Regions from separate parts of the Homo sapiens genome. Here regions 2, 3, 4, 5 and 6 are each linked to region 1. The links are contacts of gene promoters, found by promoter capture Hi-C in human tissues and cell types (Jung and others, 2019). All regions are on one chromosome and are shown on one strand. The core of a region is centred on a gene start or on the middle of the fragment in contact, and the rest is flanking DNA. Distances in the headings are between cores, read along the strand shown.

Evidence for each region. Contacts are between HindIII fragments. The study calls those that stand out against the background at their distance.
Region 2: a contact is called between a fragment that was not itself captured here and the fragment with the promoter of TMEM213 in region 1, in 1 of the 25 tissues and cell types used here (H1 embryonic stem cells).
Region 3: a fragment that was not itself captured here is called in contact with the fragment with the promoter of TMEM213 in region 1 in 2 of the 25 tissues and cell types used here (H1 embryonic stem cells and mesendoderm cells).
Region 4: a contact is called between a fragment that was not itself captured here and the fragment with the promoter of TMEM213 in region 1, in 1 of the 25 tissues and cell types used here (pancreas).
Region 5: a fragment that was not itself captured here is called in contact with the fragment with the promoter of TMEM213 in region 1 in 2 of the 25 tissues and cell types used here (H1 embryonic stem cells and liver).
Region 6: a fragment that was not itself captured here is called in contact with the fragment with the promoter of TMEM213 in region 1 in 2 of the 25 tissues and cell types used here (H1 embryonic stem cells and psoas muscle).

The regions. Positions count from the first base shown.
Region 1 is chr7:138,796,532-138,799,414 of GRCh38, reverse strand. TMEM213 (transmembrane protein 213) reads right to left here and starts at 1,421. Exons shown (of 3, transcript NM_001085429.2): 1 at 1,229-1,421. The coding sequence starts at 1,310. It overlaps ATP6V0A4 (ATPase H+ transporting V0 subunit a4), which reads left to right and starts at 1,219. Exons shown (of 22, transcript NM_020632.3): 1 at 1,219-1,381. RefSeq lists a silencer at 1,157-1,451. The HindIII fragment of the contact is 6,104 bases long and covers 1-2,883 here.
Region 2 is chr7:139,025,164-139,028,046 of GRCh38, reverse strand. It overlaps ZC3HAV1L (ZC3HAV1 like), which reads left to right. Exons shown (of 5, transcript NM_080660.4): 4 at 1,214-1,339; 5 at 1,487-2,341. The coding sequence ends at 1,503. Among named protein-coding and RNA genes, the nearest start is that of ZC3HAV1L, 9.4 kb to the left of the region's middle. The HindIII fragment of the contact is 4,981 bases long and covers 1-2,883 here.
Region 3 is chr7:138,592,645-138,595,527 of GRCh38, reverse strand. SVOPL (SVOP like) reads left to right here. Exons shown (of 16, transcript NM_001139456.2): 16 at 907-1,243. The coding sequence ends at 918. Among named protein-coding and RNA genes, the nearest start is that of SVOPL, 110 kb to the left of the region's middle. The HindIII fragment of the contact is 4,048 bases long and covers 1-2,883 here.
Region 4 is chr7:138,615,446-138,618,328 of GRCh38, reverse strand. All of the region lies in intron 14 of SVOPL (SVOP like), which reads left to right. Among named protein-coding and RNA genes, the nearest start is that of SVOPL, 84 kb to the left of the region's middle. The HindIII fragment of the contact is 3,439 bases long and covers 1-2,883 here.
Region 5 is chr7:138,962,260-138,965,142 of GRCh38, reverse strand. The region is part of intron 1 of KIAA1549; the gene reads left to right. Among named protein-coding and RNA genes, the nearest start is that of KIAA1549, 18 kb to the left of the region's middle. The HindIII fragment of the contact is 7,609 bases long and covers 1-2,883 here.
Region 6 is chr7:138,928,327-138,931,209 of GRCh38, reverse strand. The region is part of intron 1 of KIAA1549; the gene reads left to right. Among named protein-coding and RNA genes, the nearest start is that of KIAA1549, 52 kb to the left of the region's middle. The HindIII fragment of the contact is 3,450 bases long and covers 1-2,883 here.

The DNA of each region.
Region 1 (2,883 bases), core at 172-2,671:
GCTATTCCACAAGAAAAGCTGCTGGGAAGACCCAACGATTCAGTGCAGTTAAACTTGTCTTCTGATTCTGAGCTCCCATCATAAGCAAGGCACTGTCGGGGTAAGTAGAAAGAAACTCAGCACTCTTATTTGGGGAGGGGTGAAGTTGGAAAATAAAATGAATGTGCTTACCATAATTGCTGACATTCACTGTGTGTGTTCTATGGGCTATTTCTAAGTTCTTTACATGAAATTACATCAATTCGTCTTGACAAGCACTATGATTGTCCCCATGAGATAAAGGAGGAAACTTGGCATAGAGAGGTAAAGTCATTTGCTCGAGGTCGCATAGCTAGTGAGTCATGGAAGCTGGACCTGGGTTCAGGCTCAGCGGCTCAAGAGTGCACGTCTTGAACCTCAACACCAACACCCCTGGCAGTGGCTACAGAAGAGAGTCTGAGGATGAGAGGGGCAGACACAGGACTTTGGGGGCAGGGTTGGTTTTGGGAGCAGGAGTGTTGCAGGGCATAGAGAGTGTGGTGGTGTTCTGAGGTGGCTGAGAACAAGATCAAAGCCAGGAGCAGAAGATGGTAACCAAGGTCCCTCTGCCGTGAGTTGCAGAACCCGGCCTGGCAGGGCAAGGCAGGGGATGTAGATCAGCCTTCCAGCCTCCACAGGAAAATGGGGAGATAACCCAGCATTTCCAGTGCCCGGGGAGGCAGGAGGGTGGGAGACAGTGAATGGCAGCCCTCCTGGCAGTCAGGTTTTGTGAAAGTCGCAGAGAAAGTACAAGGGGCAGGGAGGGATGGAGGACTTAGGAAAGGGAAGGTCAGACACAAATGTGCACAGGGAGGATTGCAAAGCACGACAGCCCAGTGGGGCTGAGAAGGAGCCTTCAGGACACAGCGGACCAAGAGATATCATTTTGGTCCCCTGATGGGTGAGACTCCAGCAAATAACTTTTTCCTTTCTTTGTGGCAAAGGCCAAGAGAGGTGGCTGCTCCTGCCTTAGCTGAGGAATTGAGTATCTGATCTCCGTCTCAGGCCAACCTAAGACCCCCCCTGCCCCAGCCCCACCTCCCACCCCCTGCCTAATCCTTCAGATGAGAAAGTTCTGTTTCCTCCTTCCTTTGCGCAGGACCAACCCTGGCCAAAGAATCTTCCCCCTCCTCCTTCTTTCCCTCCCACCTCTCTTCCCTCCTTCCCTCCCCCTTCCCAGCCTGGCCATGAATAAAGCTCATAACGCTACCTGCCGAGCAAGCCGAGTGGAGGGAGGCAAAGGCCAGGCTGAGGATCAGGGTGGCCCGGGTGGCAGCGGGGAGGCGCTGCATGCTGGAGGCTGTGCTGAGTGCCCGGTGCAGGTGAGCCGGTCCTGCGGAGTTGTGCCGAGTGCCTGCTGCAGGTGAGTCGACTCCCACCTGCAGGAGCTGGAAAGCAACTCTGCCAGAGGTGAACTTATGCTGGGTGTTTGGGGGAAACACCATGGGGTGGAGCAAAGGAAACTTGGCCTGTCACACCTTCTCTCACCTCTCTAGAAGGGAAGCCAAACCGTTGGCTGAGGAAGGAAGGGAGGGGCAAGCTGTGCCCTTCTCCCCTGAGCGCAAATATTGTCCTTATTGAGAAACAAGGGGAGGACAAGAGAGATCTGTGTCATGCTGGTTCCTGGGACATGAGTTTGCTGCCTCTCCCATCTGCAGGTGTAGCATGGATGCTCAATTCCATTTGGGCCAATATTCACTGAGCACCCACTATGCTGAAGTTGGGAGATACCTGCTGTCGAAGTGCGTTAATTACAAACACGCATCATTCAACCCCAGAACCGTGTTTGAGGAATGGCTTGGGAGGATAAAGCACTGTGGGTTTCAACAGTGGAGGCCACATCTGCTGATGGGATGCTTCAAGAAGAAAATGGCATTTGAGGTTGGGCATGGGGGCTCACCCTGTAGTCCCAGCACTCTGGGAGGCTGAGGCAGGTGGATCACTTGAAGTCAGGAGTTCAAGACCAGCCTGGCCAAAATGGTGAAACCCCATCTCTAATAAAAATACAAAAATTAGCCAGGTGTGGTGGTGCATGCCTGTAGTCCCAGCCACTTGGGAAGCTGAGGCAGGAAAATCGCTTGAACCCGGAAGACAGAGGTTGCAGTAAGCTGAGATGCTCCTGACCCTGCATTCCAGCTTGGCCGACAGAGGGAGACTCCATCTCCAAAAAAAAAAAAAAAAAAAAAAAGAAAATGGCATTTGGCCTGGGCCTTGAAGGATGGCTAGAATTTTGACAGGGGGAGAGGGGAAGATGGCATTATAGGTAGAGGGACAGATGAGCAAAGGTCCAGAGGTAAGGAAGTGTCAGAGGGTGGCTGTACCAGCAGCACCCAGAAGCGCAGGTGAGCCAAGGCATGTGAGGTGGGGAGGCAAGAGGAGAGCTGTGGGCTAAGCTTCTGCGTGCCTGGTAGAGGAATTTGAAACAAAGTCAGGAAGCAAAGGGGAAGGTTCTGTAGAGATTTTGAGCTGAGGAGTAACTTGACTAGAGCTCTGCATTCCGTCTAAAACATTTATTGAAGACCCACATGTATATAAAAGGTCTCATCCTAGGCACTGGAGACTGAGATGACTGAGACACGCCTCTTCCCCTTGAGAGCACAGTGCAGCAGGGAACCAAACCCGGAAGAAAGAAATTTGATGCAACCTGGCAAGACTCAAATAGGGGTACCTTCCACTGTGATGGGAATAAAAAGGAGGATGGGATGAACTCTGCCTGAGAGGTATAGGGGAAGGATTCACAGAGAAAGTGACATTTGGGCTGGGTGCTGAAGTTTGTATGTGCAGATTAGAGTTGATGGGCTTTTCAAGTCAAAGGAATAGCACCTATAAAGGCGAGGGAATCGTCTGTGTGCACACAGCCTGCCA
Region 2 (2,883 bases), core at 117-2,616, 230 kb before region 1:
GGGCCGGTGAGTGGAAAAGTAAGATTAATGTAGGGATGGCTTTCTTGTCATAAATATAATTTTTGGCTTTGTTAATTTTTAAGTAATTTTAATGACATTACAGAACAATTTGGAAAATAGCAACTGGAAATGAAAATTGTATATGATTTTGCTCACTCTAATCTACTATACTTGTTACAATTTTATTATAGGCCCTTCAGTTCTGTTATATACAAACACGAATCCAATTGTGCTCAAAGTATATGTTAATTTAATATCTTAAATTTCTACTTTATACAACATCATATTTTCCCATATTGCTAGGAATATTGCATATTCCCATTATAAATATATTCCCATAGTCTTTCAGTAATTTTTATTGTTGTTTTTGAAGACAGGATCTTGCTCTGTTGCCTAGGCTGGAGTACAGTGGCACAGTCATGACTCACTGCAGCCTCGAACTCCTGGGCTCAAGTGATCTTTCTGCTCAGCCTCCCTGGTAGCTGGGACTGCAGGCACATGCCACCATGTCCAGCTATTTTTTAAAATTTTTCTTTTGTAGGGACAAGGTTTTGCTATGTTGACCAGGCTGGTTTTGAACTCCTGGGCTCAAGCAGTCCTCCAGCCCTGGCCTCCCAAAGTGTTGGGATGACAGGCGTGAGCCACTGCACCTGGCCTTTAGTAGTTTTTTAGTCTACAAAGTGTGGTTTGGTGTTCTTTTAATTCTAATGCATTCAGTTACTTATTCTGTTACATTTGCTGGTACCTAGAAATCAGTGGGTGGTAGGCTTAGGAGAATTGCTGTTGGGAAAGGTAAATCACCAAAGGCGGAGTTGCTAAGCTTTCACCATCGAGTTTTCATGTGTTGGGATGTTAGTGTCAGACGTAGTGAGTGCAGACAGGGAGGGCTCTGCATATACCAGTGTCGGGCTGTTTAGGGAACTGTGAATGGTGGCAGGTACCTTCTACCCTATGCTGTGTCTAGGGCCTGTCATTGTCTTCATCTGGTTTCGTTTGGTGAGTCTCTCCTGTGACATAGTGACTTTCCGCTTGCTCTCTCTCTCTCTATTTTTTATACACACACACATACAATTTTTTAAAATCCAGAAGACATGAACTCTCCAAATCCATGTGTTGGGAGTCTTGTCTGATGGCTGGTTAGCTGGGCTGTTGCTCCCAACGTAAAATGAAACTTGGGGTATCGTAGGAAAACTTATCCCTTTCCTCTTTGTAGATAATTCATCACCTTCGACTGAGCATTCACAAGGCCTTGAGAAGCAAGGAGTGCACGCAGCTGGAGCTGCAGAAGCTGGTCCTCTGGCTTCTGTCCCTGCTCAGTCGGCCAAGAAGCCCTGCCCAGGTAAACCTTAAAGGGGGTCAGTGAACTAAGAAGAAGCTTGTCCAGCTTGGAAGATCTGAAAACAAGCCTTCTGTTTAGCTTTAATTTGTAACCATTCATTCATTTAATGATAGATTTGTAATGGTCATAATAATATCTACCTCACAGTGTCTTGCGAGAAGTAAAGAAGATGGAAAAGGAGAAAATGTCCTTTTGGAAGAATACATTTGGGCATGGGTGGTTGGGGATGGGGTGGGACATTGAACAGGCAAAGAGAGGCTAAAATTGAGTGCAGATGGGGCTAGTCCAGGGCAAGTGCTGAAGATGGCAGCTGCTATCTGCAGCTCCTAGGTGCTTTCCTCAGGCTGGGTAGATGGAGCTCTGCTGACTTCTGTGGTCCACCATTGTTTTTCTATCAATTTATATTGTGGCAATCCTAGAGTACTTTGCACTCATTTTTTTTTTTCACTTAATATTGTCTCATAAGCATCTTTCTATATTTGTTCACATCGTACATAATCATGTTTTTGCACAGATACATTAATATTATCATAGTTTGTTTAACTACTTGGCTTTTTCTAACAGTTTTTTTTTTTGAGATGGTCTTGCTCTGTTGCCCAGGCTGGAGTGCAGTGACGTGATCTCGGCTCACTGCAGCCTTGACTTCCTGGGCTCAAGTGATCATCCCACCTCAGCCTCCTGAGTAGCTGGGACTACAGGTATGCACCACGACCAGCTAATTTTTTGTATTTTTTTTTTGTAGAGAGGGTATTTTGCCATGTTGCCCAGGCTAGTCTTGAACTCCTGGGCTCAAGCGATCTGCCTGCTTCAGCCTCCCAGAGTGCTAGGATTACAGGCATGAGCCACTGCACCCAGCCTCTTAACAAATTTTGAATATAACTCCTGTCTTAAAATCTGCAGAATATTGAATTTTTCCAGCTATTTTTTACTTTTGCTTAGCTTATAGATGCTAAAGGATACTGTCATTTGCATTTTTAAAAATATATGTATGAGTGAATAGTTTTCTGGTGTCTGCTTTCTGATTGTTCTTATTTTTTCATTTTATATTTGGCCTTTTATTAATGGGGCCCTCATCTATGCTGATGTGGGACAGCCTTTAACGAGGCCTCAAATTTTCATGAAAGGACCTCAGCAATACTGTGCTTGGATGATATTCAATTTTTGTAGGTCCATCCTCAGCCAGTAGTACAGAGTATATAACCTTTGGGTTCTCTCCAGAGACTTCTACCTCACTCTGTCTACTCTTTTTTTTTTTTTTGGAGACAGAGTTTCACTCTTGTTGCCCAGGCCGGAGTGCAATGGCGCGATCTCATCTCACCATAACCTCCGCCTCCTGGGTTCAAGTGGTTCTCCTGCCTCAGCCTCCCAAGTAGCTGAGGTTACAGGCATGAGCCACCACGCCCAGTTAATTATGTATTTTTAGTAGAGACGGGGTTTCACCATGTTGGCCAGGCTGGTCTCAAACTCCTGACCTCAGGTGATCTGCCTGCCTCGGCCTCCCAAACTGCTGGGATTACAGGTGTGAGACTCTGTCTACTCTTCAT
Region 3 (2,883 bases), core at 111-2,610, 200 kb after region 1:
TAGAATCTCCTATTCAAGTCATATCCACCTAGAAGGCTTTTCCTCTTCTGTTGACTGGGACTTGGTTTTAGCACTATGGGGAAATGATTCTGCATGATTGTTTATAGCCTTTTAAACAAACAAGTAGGTTCAATACATACAATTGTCTGGGCTAACTGGCTACATGTCTTTGGGAAAAATCTTAAAATACACACCCACACCCACTCCCCCTACTTCAGTGTTGTGAGTGGTTACCATATGAAACCACCTGACTGACACCAATACAGCTTCTAGAAATGTTTATAAGAACATGGCAAAAATAGTAACTTCCTTCCAACAACACATACAGACAGCATCCTAATAATTTGGATGAACCAACCTGGTCAATAGTTTTAAAGTGGTGTTGATTCTGTGTTACAACTACTCTAAGAAACTCTGATTCGACAAGTCTGGTAAACTAAAAATCTAAAACACTATCTAGAAGGAGAATATTGGCCAGGTACAGTGGCTCACGTCTGTAATCCTAGCACTTTGGGAGGCTGAGGCAGGTGGATCACCTGAGGTCAGGAGTTTGAGACCAGCATGGCCAACATGGTGAAACCCTGTCTCTAAAAAAAAAAAAGTTATATATATACACAGACACACACGTGTATATATATGTATGTATGTATATATGTATACATATAAATGTATATATAATGTATGTATATGTATAAAACGTGAATTTTTCTAAATGACATCTGCATTATATTAGAATTAAAAAGTTAGCATTGTATCTTCAGATACACAAAGGTAAATGCTAGGATTTTCCCTCCTAATAATTTTTTATTAAAGAATCTTCTATTACTAAAATATCAGATAGCTCAGTATGAATGGACAAGACTTTTAAAAAGTCTATTACTGATCTATTAAATAACTTTCTTCCAGCAAATTAAATGAAGACCTGCAAAGCTATGTCTACCAGATGAGAAAAATGAATTCTATCTTCAGAACTGCGGTGCATTTTTTTAAAACTTGGTTTTACTTCTGTATGCTACTCGGTAATTAGTAAAGTGATTTTTTTTTTAAAGGCATATATGGGAATGGGGTAGGTAACTGTATATTGATCTCTTCCTTGAGGAACAATATATAAAGTACTTTTATAAAATATAATTTAAGCTTTCAAAGGGGTGTGAGAGGGAGATGGTGGGGGGGAAGATGGCTTTTCTTCATTGAAATCAAGTCTGTAAACCTTTATATGAATAAATACTAAATTTTAAACTTACATTTGATATTCTCCCATGAGGTTTGTAGCTAAACTTGGACTGAAATTTTGTAGCTAAGGCAAGAACCTGGGATGATATCATTTCAAAACTACTAGAATAGCCATCAAGTTCAAATCCAAATTTGCCTATGTAACTTACAGCCTCCATAGTTTGATGAAAATTGCTTATTCATAAAATGCTTAAATTAGAGTGAGTATTACACATAATCACCAAGAAGCAGGGAATAAACCAATTTTCCCCCTTACATTCCCTATCTCTAATTTTATTTCTTTATAGGGGGAATCTTTGATTCTCATGATAAAGATTAAAGAATGCAGCAAGCTTTCCGCCATCATGTAATTACAGGCCTGCCCTATTTTATTGTGCTTCCATATATTGCACTGTTACAAACAGCATGTGCTCACTTTGTCTCTGTGTTATATTTTGGTAATCTGTTATGGTGATTGGTGACCTTTGACATTACTATTGCAATTGTTTTGAGAGTGCCACTAACCACACTCATGTAAGAAGGCAAACTTAATACATGTGTGTTCTGACTGCTCTGCCTACTGGATGATCCCCCTTCTCTCTCCTTTTCCTTAGGCCTTCCTATCCCCTGAGACTCAGTAATATTGAACTTAGGCCAAATAACCCTACAATAGCCTGTAAATGTTCAAGTGAAAGGAAGACTCGCACATTTCTCATTTTAAATCAAAAGCTAGAAATGATTAAGCTTAGTGAGGAGGGTATGTTGAAAGTTACAGGCTCAAAGCTAGGCCTCTTATGCCAAACAGCCAAGTTGTGAATGCACAGGGAGAGTTCTTGAAGGGACTACTTTAGTAAAATGCACGAATGATAAGAAAGCACAACAGCCTTATTGCTAATGTGGAGAAAGTTTGGTCTGGATAGATCAAACTATCCACAACATTCCCTTAAGCCAAAACCTAATCTAGAGCAAGAGCCTACCTCTCTGTGAAGGCAAGTGCAAGGTGAAGCAGCAAGTGCTAATGGAGACACTACAGCAAGTTATACAGATTTAGCTAAAATCACTGATGGTAGTTACACTAAACAGATTTTCATGTCGATAAAATCGTCTTCTATTGGAAGAAGAAGCCAACTAGGACTTTATAGTTACAAGTCAATGCTTGGTTTCAAAGAATAGGCTGACTTTCTTGTTAGGGACTAATGCAGCTGGTGAAGCCAATGCTCATTGACTGTTCTCAAAATTCGAGGGCCCTTAAGAATTATGCTAAATCTACTCTGCCTGTACTTTATAAATGGAACAATGCTTATGACAGAATTATCTTTTTATGGCATGGTTAATTTTTTAACCCCATTTTTTGAGACCTACTGCTGAAAAAAAGGACTTCATCTAAAACATTACTGCTCACTGACAATGCACCTAGTCACCTAAGATCTTGATAATTTAATGTCTGTTAACAAAACATCCATTCTGCAGACCATAGATCAAGAAGGAATTCTGACTTTCAAGTCTTATTATTTAATAAATATATTTCATAAAGCTATAGCTGCCACAGATAGTGATACCTCTGATGAATCTGGGCAAAGTAAATAGAAAACCTTCTGGAAACAATTCACCATTCTAGATGCCATTAAGAATATTTGTGATTCACAGGAAGAGTCAGAATAACTCAGGAGT
Region 4 (2,883 bases), core at 229-2,728, 180 kb after region 1:
TTTTGCTCTAAGGATGAAATGAGATGAATAAATGTAAAGCAATTAACCCAATGTTTGACATACAGTAAGCACTCGGTAAATGTGAGCTAATATTATCATGATGATCAATAACGGTCAAGGTGAAACGCTATTCCAATGGATACTTCTCAATAATTTAACTTTGGAAAGTATTGTTGTATCAATTTCTGTGCAATCGAGATGCTCTGCTTTCCTTAACAGGTTTAGATTGGGGAGGTTTCGAATCTGGGAAGCTTTGTGCCAGCTCCTAGGATATTTGCCTCGGTTTAGGGTGGTGTGAGCTGCTCCAAGTAGACAGTAGGGTTTGGTGTCACTTTCATGAGCTAATTAGTCACTTTCCTGAAAGGTAGTTCTCAAACTTTAGTGCTTCTCAGAATTACTAGGGTAACTTGATCACAGATCCTTGGATTCCACTCACAGATGCCGATTGTGTAGATGGGATCAGTTACCTACTTTCCTCCCCACCTCCACCTTAAAGATAAGGTCTCACTGTGTCACCCAGGCTGGAGTACAGTGGCATGATCAGGGCTCACTACAGCCTCAACTTCCTGGGCTCAAGTAATCCTCCCACCTCAGCCCCACAAGTAGCTGGGACTACAGGCATGTGCCACCATGCCTGGCTAATTTTTTTGAATTTTAGTAGAGATGAGGTCTCACTGTGTTGCTCAGCCTGGCCTTCCAAGATCCTCCTACCTTGGCCTTTCAAAGTGCTGGGATTACAGGTGTGAACCGCTGAGCCTGGCCTCAGTTACTTATATTTTTAAGTATCCCCAGCAAATCTGATGCAGCTGATGGCGGGCCACCCTCTGGGGAGGCACAGCTATCAATAGGGAGGACTGGGAGATGAGTTCTTCCTTTCACTTAATTCTTCCTCTTGTTCTTCCACTTTTTCTTTTTCCTTCTTCTTGCTCCTCCTTCTTATTTTTTTGCCTAAAACATGCTGTTAAACCAGTTAAACTAAAAATTTTAATCAGTAATATGTTTACATATCCTAATGACTATAAGCTTAATACAAAAGTCTCTTTTAAAATGAATGTTTCAGGCTGGGCACAGTAACTCACACCTGTAATCCCAGCACTTTGGGAGGCCAAGGTGGACAGATCACATGAGGCCAGGAGTTAGAGACCAGCCTGGCCAACACGGTGAAACCTCGTCTCTACTAAAAATATAAGAATTAGGCCAGGCGTGGTGGAGGGTGCCTGTAATCCCAGATAGTTGGGAGGCTGAGGCATAAGAATCGCTTGAACCTGGGAGATGGAGGTTGCACTGAGCCAAGATTGTGCCACTGCACGGCAGCCTGGATGACAAAGCGAGACTCTGTCTCAGAATAAATAAATAAATTAATTAATTGAATGTTCCAGCCAGGCATGATGGCATGCACCTATAGTCCCAGCTACTCAGGAGGCTGAAGTGTGAGACTTGGTTGAGCCTGGGAGTTCGAGGCTGTGATGAGCTATGTTTGCACCACTGCACTCTAGCCTGGACAACAGAGTAAGACTCTGTCATAAATAAACAAATTAATTAATAATAATTCACCCACTGAAAAACTTTAAGAACATTTTAAGATATTTAGTTGTTAGAAACTAATGATAGTAAAAAATAATAGTAGTCATGAGTATGTAGTCCAAGAAAACAATAAAGGAAAATTTTGCAACAAAAGTATTTAAAGATTCAGGGCCAGGTGTGGTGGCTCATGTCTGTAATCCCAGCACTTTGGGCGGCTGAGGCCGGTGGATTACCTGAGGTCAGGAGCTCGAGACCAGCCTGACCAACATGGAGAAACCCTGTCTCTACTAAAAATATAAAATTAGCTGGGTTTGTTGATGCGCGCCTGTAATCCCAGCTATTCGGGAGGCTCAGGCAGGAGAATTGCTTGAACCTGGGAGGCGGAGTTTGTGGTGAGTCAAGATCATGCCATTGCACTCCAGCCTGGTCAACAAGAGCAAAACTCCATCTCAAAAAAAAAAAAAGTATTAAAGATTCACTGAAACACAGAAGGGACCAGTGCAAGGCCTCTGCCAATAGGTCAAGGGCTGCCTCCGCACTTATTCTGGGAAACTTCAAGAGATCAGTCACTTTAGCCCTAGCTAGGTGTCTTAGTTCAGGCTGCTATAGCATGTACCACAGACTCTGGGTGGCTTATAAAAACAGAAACTTATTTCTCATAGTTCTGGAGGCTTGAAGTTCAAGATCGGGCACCCACATGTTTGGGTTCTAGTGAGGGCTCTCTTCTCGGCTTGGAGACAGCTACCTTCTTGTGTCCTCACATCCAGAAAGAGGGGAAAGAGTTTTTTCTGGTCTCTTTTATTTTTATTTTATTTAAAAATTTTTTTCCTTTCTTAAACTGGGTCTAGTGAGGGCTCTCTTCTCGGCTTGGAGACAGCTACCTTCTTGTGTCCTCACATCCAGAAAGAGGGGAAAGAGTTTTTTCTGGTCTTTTATTTTTGTTTTATTTTTTAAAAAATTTTTCCTTTCTTAAACTGGGTGGTACATCTGTGATCTTTTTTTTCCTCCCCCAGACGGAGTCTCACTCTGTCGCCCAGGCTGGAGTGCAGTGGTGTGATGTCGGCTCACTGCAACCTCCGCCTCCCAGGTTCAAACAGTTCTCCTGCCTCAGCCTTCCAAGTAGCTGAGACTACAGGCACCTGCCACCATGCCTAGCTAATTTTTGTATTTTTAGTAGAGATGGGATTTTACCATGTTGGCCAGGCTGGTCTCAAACTTTTTTTTTTTTTTTTTTTTTTTTTTTTGGAGACGGAGTCTCGCTCTGTCACCCAGGCAGGATGGAGTGCAGTGGCACGATCTTGGCTCACTGCAAGCTCTGCCTCCTGATTCACGCCATTCTCCTGCCTCAGCCTCCCGAGT
Region 5 (2,883 bases), core at 208-2,707, 170 kb before region 1:
ACCCCGATGTAAAAAATTAGCAACCGCCTCCGTAATTCCTCTGCTCCTGCCTGCTGAAGGAGGCTGAAGAGGGAGGATCGCTTGAGCAGAGGAGGTTAAGGCTGCAGTGAGCCGAGATCGCACCACGGCACTTCAGCCTGGGCAACAGAGCAAGACCCTGTCTCAAAAAAAAAAAGAAAAAAAAACAAAGAAAAAAAACACTGCTATGAGCATCGTTGTGTATACATCTTTACACACTTTTCCAATTACTTTCTTAAGATAAATTCTCAGAAATAGACTTGCTGGACTAGGCAGTATGCACATATTAAATTTTGATGCATATTGCCAAATCGCTCTCTAGAAAGGCTGAAGCAATCCACATTCTCTCTAGCAATGCACCAGAGTGCCAGCTTGCTTCTCTCCTCCATAATACAGGCTGTGACCAGTCTTTATTGTCTTTGCCCAACTCATAGGTAAAAAATATCTCCATTAAAGGTGCATTTCTCTGATTGTTCATTGGCATTTGGGCCTTTGAATAAGGTTCTCTTTGCACTTCTTTCTCTGGTCCTCTCCTGCAGCAGTCTCAGGGGCTGAGCTGGGAATAATAATAATACCCAACAATTATAGAGTGCATGCTGTGTGCCAAACATTGTGTGAGGAGACGGCACAGTGTCTCTTGTTTAATCCGTGCAACAATTGCATGAGGTAGGTACTGTAAGGATCCCCATTTTACAGATGAGGAAAATAAAGCTTAGAGAAGTTCATTGACTTGCTCACACAGCTAGCAAGAGTTTTTCCCACCCTGGGGGTGGGCATGTGCACCCCCAGCCACGGTCTCCTCTGTTCTGGGTCTGGGTTAGAGAATGACTCTGTGGTCTCTCCCACTGAAGTGCCCACTCACAGGCTTTGCTTGCAGGGCAGAGTGAGCTCTGTGGACAGAGCCCCAGTCAGAGCCACCTGTGGCCCCTGGCCAGCTCCCTGTCCCTGTTAGAAGCCCTGACTGTGAAGTCACAGCCTGGCCTAGCCCATAGAAGATGCTCACCAAACGTAGGTTAAGAGAAATGAATGAAGCAGGCTTTCAAAACCTACAGTGTTGTGTGGTGGTGCATTTTACTTTATTTCGGCAAATTAAACATTTTAACAATAAAAAAACTCAAAAAGTTAAAATTCCATGATGAGCCATATTCCATTTTCTCCACCAGTGAGGATAATATTTTTCTTAATACTGAGTGACATTTTCTTGCCGCATTTCCTCTTTTATCACGTCCTGGATCATTTCCTTGTGGTTTTGATACCATTTTTGCTTTGTGTTGACTATGCTGTTTTTCTGTTGTTTGTTTCTGACAGCCAAGTGTGTGGTTGTCATACATCTCCTCCGTTAATTAAGTTAGTGTATACCACTGGTTTAAAATCAATTTCTTATTTACTTTGGAATTTTGGTGGGAGGAAGTCGATGCCTTAAAATGAGTACTTTGTTCAAAAACTAACTGGTACAGCCGGCTGTCCTACTTCGTTTGTTTTATATGCCCCTTGAGCCTTTTTGGTTCTTCATAAAACACAGTGTATTAATGCCTTGAGTTCTTGCCTAGATCTGGTATAAAGTTTAACCTTCTGAATACTTCCCAGAAATCCTGAACCTGCAACTGTTCTATTTTGTTCGTTGTAGTTTATATTGACTTTACTCATTGACAGCCTTCAGGTTCCTCTACTCCCTCTTCCAATTGTGTTCAGTTCCCCGAGAGGAAAACAAGATATACCTGTAGAATGTGTACCCTATCAGGCTGGGTAAACCAGCAGTGCTGTGGAAAGTTTCCAAATCTCAGTGGCTTTCCGCATGTGACTTCTGCCTCCCACCAGCAGATCTTGCCCTTCATCTCTCTCCTGCACCTTTTGCATCTTGTCTGGTTCTGGGAAGTGTGCTTGCCTGGGTCCTGTTTTTCATTCTTCCATCTTTGTTTTGGGTTTGCCAGTGCCAGAAGGCATGCCTGCAGGCAGGCCAGTTGTGTGGTAGTTCCATGCCCACATGTCTGCATGACTCAGCCAACATTGATGGAGCACTCACTGCCATGTGCTGAGCACCGTGCTGGATGTTGGGATACTAAGAGAAATACGGCAGTCAGTCACAGCCCTCTAGCAACTCCGTCTACAAGGGGAAGTTGTTCTGTACGTAAGTGACTATCCAGTGGCATGTGAAGTGCTATTGTAGAGGACTGCGGTGGTGATACAAAGAGGGCAGTAACTGTTGGTGGATGTAGGACCGCAGAACTGTGGGGGATGTTTGAAGATGGATATGAGATGGAACATTCTTTTAAAGCTAAAGGGGAGCCTCATTTTGGTTATCTATTGCTGCATAACAAATCACCCTGAAACAGAATGGTTGAAAACAGTAATGGTTTATTATTTCTCATGATTCTGCGGGTCAGGAATTCGGACAGGTCTCGGATGGATAATTCTGCTCCATGAAACTCAGCTGGGGTCACTCACTTGGCTGTGTTCGGTTGGCTCCAGGGCTGGGCTGGAAGGCTGAGGCTGTTTCACCCCCTCCTACCTTCATGTCCCACCACATTCCCTCCCTCTCTCTTCCCAGGTGACCAGCTTGGACTTCTTATAGTAGGACTTCATATGGGGCCGCTGGCTTCTAAGGGGAATGAAGCAGGAGCTAGCGGCCCTCTTAAGATCTGGAGCTCAAAAGTTGTCTCTGATGCATTCTGCTGGTCAGAGAAAATCACAAGACTAGTCCACAAGGGGCAGGAGGAAATAGGGCTACCCACTGATGGGTGGTGAAATAGCCTAGACATTGACATTGATGGTGGTCGTCTTTGGAGATTAGCAGCTACCATAAGCACAAAATGGTTGAAGGTAATGGAGAGAAAAGATACAATTACTTGAGAAAGCTCTCAGAGA
Region 6 (2,883 bases), core at 284-2,783, 130 kb before region 1:
ATATCTGTTATGGTGATCTGTGATCAGTCACCTTTGATGTCACTATTGTAATTTGTCCTGGGGTGCCGCAAACTCTGCCCATATACAAAGGCAAACTTAATAAATGTGCGTGTCCTAACTGCTCAACTCACCAGTCGTTCTCCTGTCTCTCTCCCTCTCCTGAGGGCTCCCCATCTGCTGAGACACAAGAATTTTGAAATTAGTCCAGTTTATAACTCTGCAGTGGCCTCTAAGTGCTCAAGTGAGAGGAAGAGTTGCATGTCTCTCACTTGCAGTCAAAAGCTAGAAATGATTACGTGAGGAAGACACATCAAAAGCCAAGGGAGCCTGAAAGCTGACCTCTTGCAACAAATAGATTGCCAAGTTGTGAATGCAAAGGAAAAGTTCTTGAAGGAAATTAAAAGTAGTACCACAACGAACACATGAATAATAAGAAAGCAAAACAGCCTTGTTGCTGATACGGAGAAAGCTTGAATGGTCTGGATAGATTAAATCAGCTGCAACATTCCCATAAGCCAAAGCCTAATCCAGAGCAAGGCTCTAACTCTGTTTGATCCTCTAAAGGCTGAAAAAGGTAAGGAGGCTGCAGAAGAAAAGTTTGAAGCTAACAGAGGTTGGTTCTTGAGATTTAAGGAAAGAAGCTTCTCCGTACATAGAAGTACAAGGTGTAACAGCAAATTATCCGGAGGATTTAGGTAAGATCACTGGTGGAGGCAGTTAGACTAAACAACAGATTTTCAGTGTGGATGAAGCAGCCTTCTAGGAGAAGATGTCATCTAGGACTTTCACAGCTAGAGAAGTCAATGCTTGGCTTCAGAGCTTCAAAGGATGGCTGACTCTCTTGTTAGGGGCCAATGAAGCTAGTGACTTGAAGTTGAAGCCAGTGCTCATGGACCATTCTGAAAAGTCTGGGGCCCTTAAGAATTATGGTAAGTTGGCTCTGCTTGCACTCTGTAAGTGAAACAACACAGCCTAGATGACAGCACATCTGTGTAAAGCATGATTTACTGACTAACTTAAGGCCACTCTTGAGACCTACCGCTCAGAACAAAAGATTCCTTTCAAACTATTACTGCTCATTGACAATGGACCTAGTCACCCAATAACTCTTATCAAGATGGATAAGGAGATTAAAGTTGCTTTCATGCCTGTTAACACACATCCATTCTGCAACCCATGGATCAAGAGTAATTTTGACTTTCAAGTCTTACTATATAAGAAATACATTTCATGGCTGGGTGCGGTGACTCACTTTGGGAGGCCGAGGCAGGAGGATTGCTTGAGGCCAGGAGTTTGAGACTAACCTGGGCAACATAGTGAGACCTTATCTCTACAAAAGAAAGATAAAATAAATAGCTGGGCATAGTGGCACATGCCTATGGTCCCAGCTGTTTGGGAGGTTGAGCTGTGGGGGATTCCTTGAGCCCAGGAGTTCAAGGGTGCTGTGAGCTATAATTGTACCATTGTATTCCAGCTTGGGAAATAGAGCAAGGCACTGTCTTAAAAAACAAAACAAAACAAAAAGATAAAAGAAATATATTTCATAAGGCTATATAGCTGCCATAGGTAGCGATTTCTCTCATGGGTCTGAGAAAAGTACGTCAAGAACATTCTGGAAAAGGTTCACCATTCTAGATGCCATAAAGAATATTCGTGATTTATGAGAGACAGCCAAAATATCAACATTAACAGAAGTTTGGAAGAAGTTGATGCGAAACCTCATGAATGACTTTGAGGCATTCAAGACTTCAGTGGAGGAAGTCACTGCAGATGGAATGAAGAACCTGAATTAGAAGCAGAGCCAGAAGACATGACGAATTGCAGCACTCATGGTCAAACTTAAACAGACGAGGAGTCACTTCTTATGGATGAGCAAAGAAAGTGGTTTCTTGAGATGGAACCTAGTGCTGGTGAAGATGCTGTGAATATTGTTGAAATGACAACAAAGGATGTAGAATATTCCATAAGCCTAGTCGATAAAACAGTTGGCAGAGTTTGAGAGGATTCACTCCAATTTTGAAGGAAGTTCTACTGTGGGCCAAATGCTATCAAACAGCATCACAGGCTACAGAGAAGTCTTTCATGAAATGAAGCATCAATTGATGAGGCAAACTTCATTGTCTAAGATAAAGCCACCCTAACCTTCATCAGCCACCCACCCTCATCAGCCAGCAGCCGTCAACACTGAGATAAAACACCACCAACAAAAAGATTGCAACTCGCTGAAGGCTTAGACAATTGTTAGCATTTTTAACAATGAAGTATTTTTAGTTAAGATGTGTACATTTTTTTTAATGTATTTTTTATTATACTTTAAGTTCTAGGGTACATGTGCACAACATGCAGGTTTGTTACATATGTATATATGTGCCATGTTGGTGTGCTGCGCCCATTAACTTGTCATTTACATTAGAGGGATAGCATTAGGAGATGTACATTGTTTTTTTAAGACATAATGCTATTGTGTACTTAATAGACTACAGTATGGTATAAACATAACTTTTATATGCACTGGGAAACAAAAAAATTTGTGTGACTTGCTTTATTGTGATATTTGCTTTATTAAGTTTGTCCAGGACCAAACCTGCAACAAAGGTGTATTTATACATCAAGAATGCCTTTAGGCTGGGCATGGTGGCTCATGCCTACAATCCCAGCACTATGGGAGGCTGAGGCGGGTGGATCACCTGAGGTCAGGAGTTTGAGACCAGCCTAGCCAACATGGTGAAACACTGTCTCTATTAAAAATACAAAAATTAGCTGGGCGTGGTGGCACGTGCCTATAGTCTCAGCTACTCGGGAGGCTGAGGCAGGAGAATTGCTTGAACCTGGGAGGCAGAGGTTGCAGTGAGCTGAGATTGCACCACTGCACTCCAGCCTGGG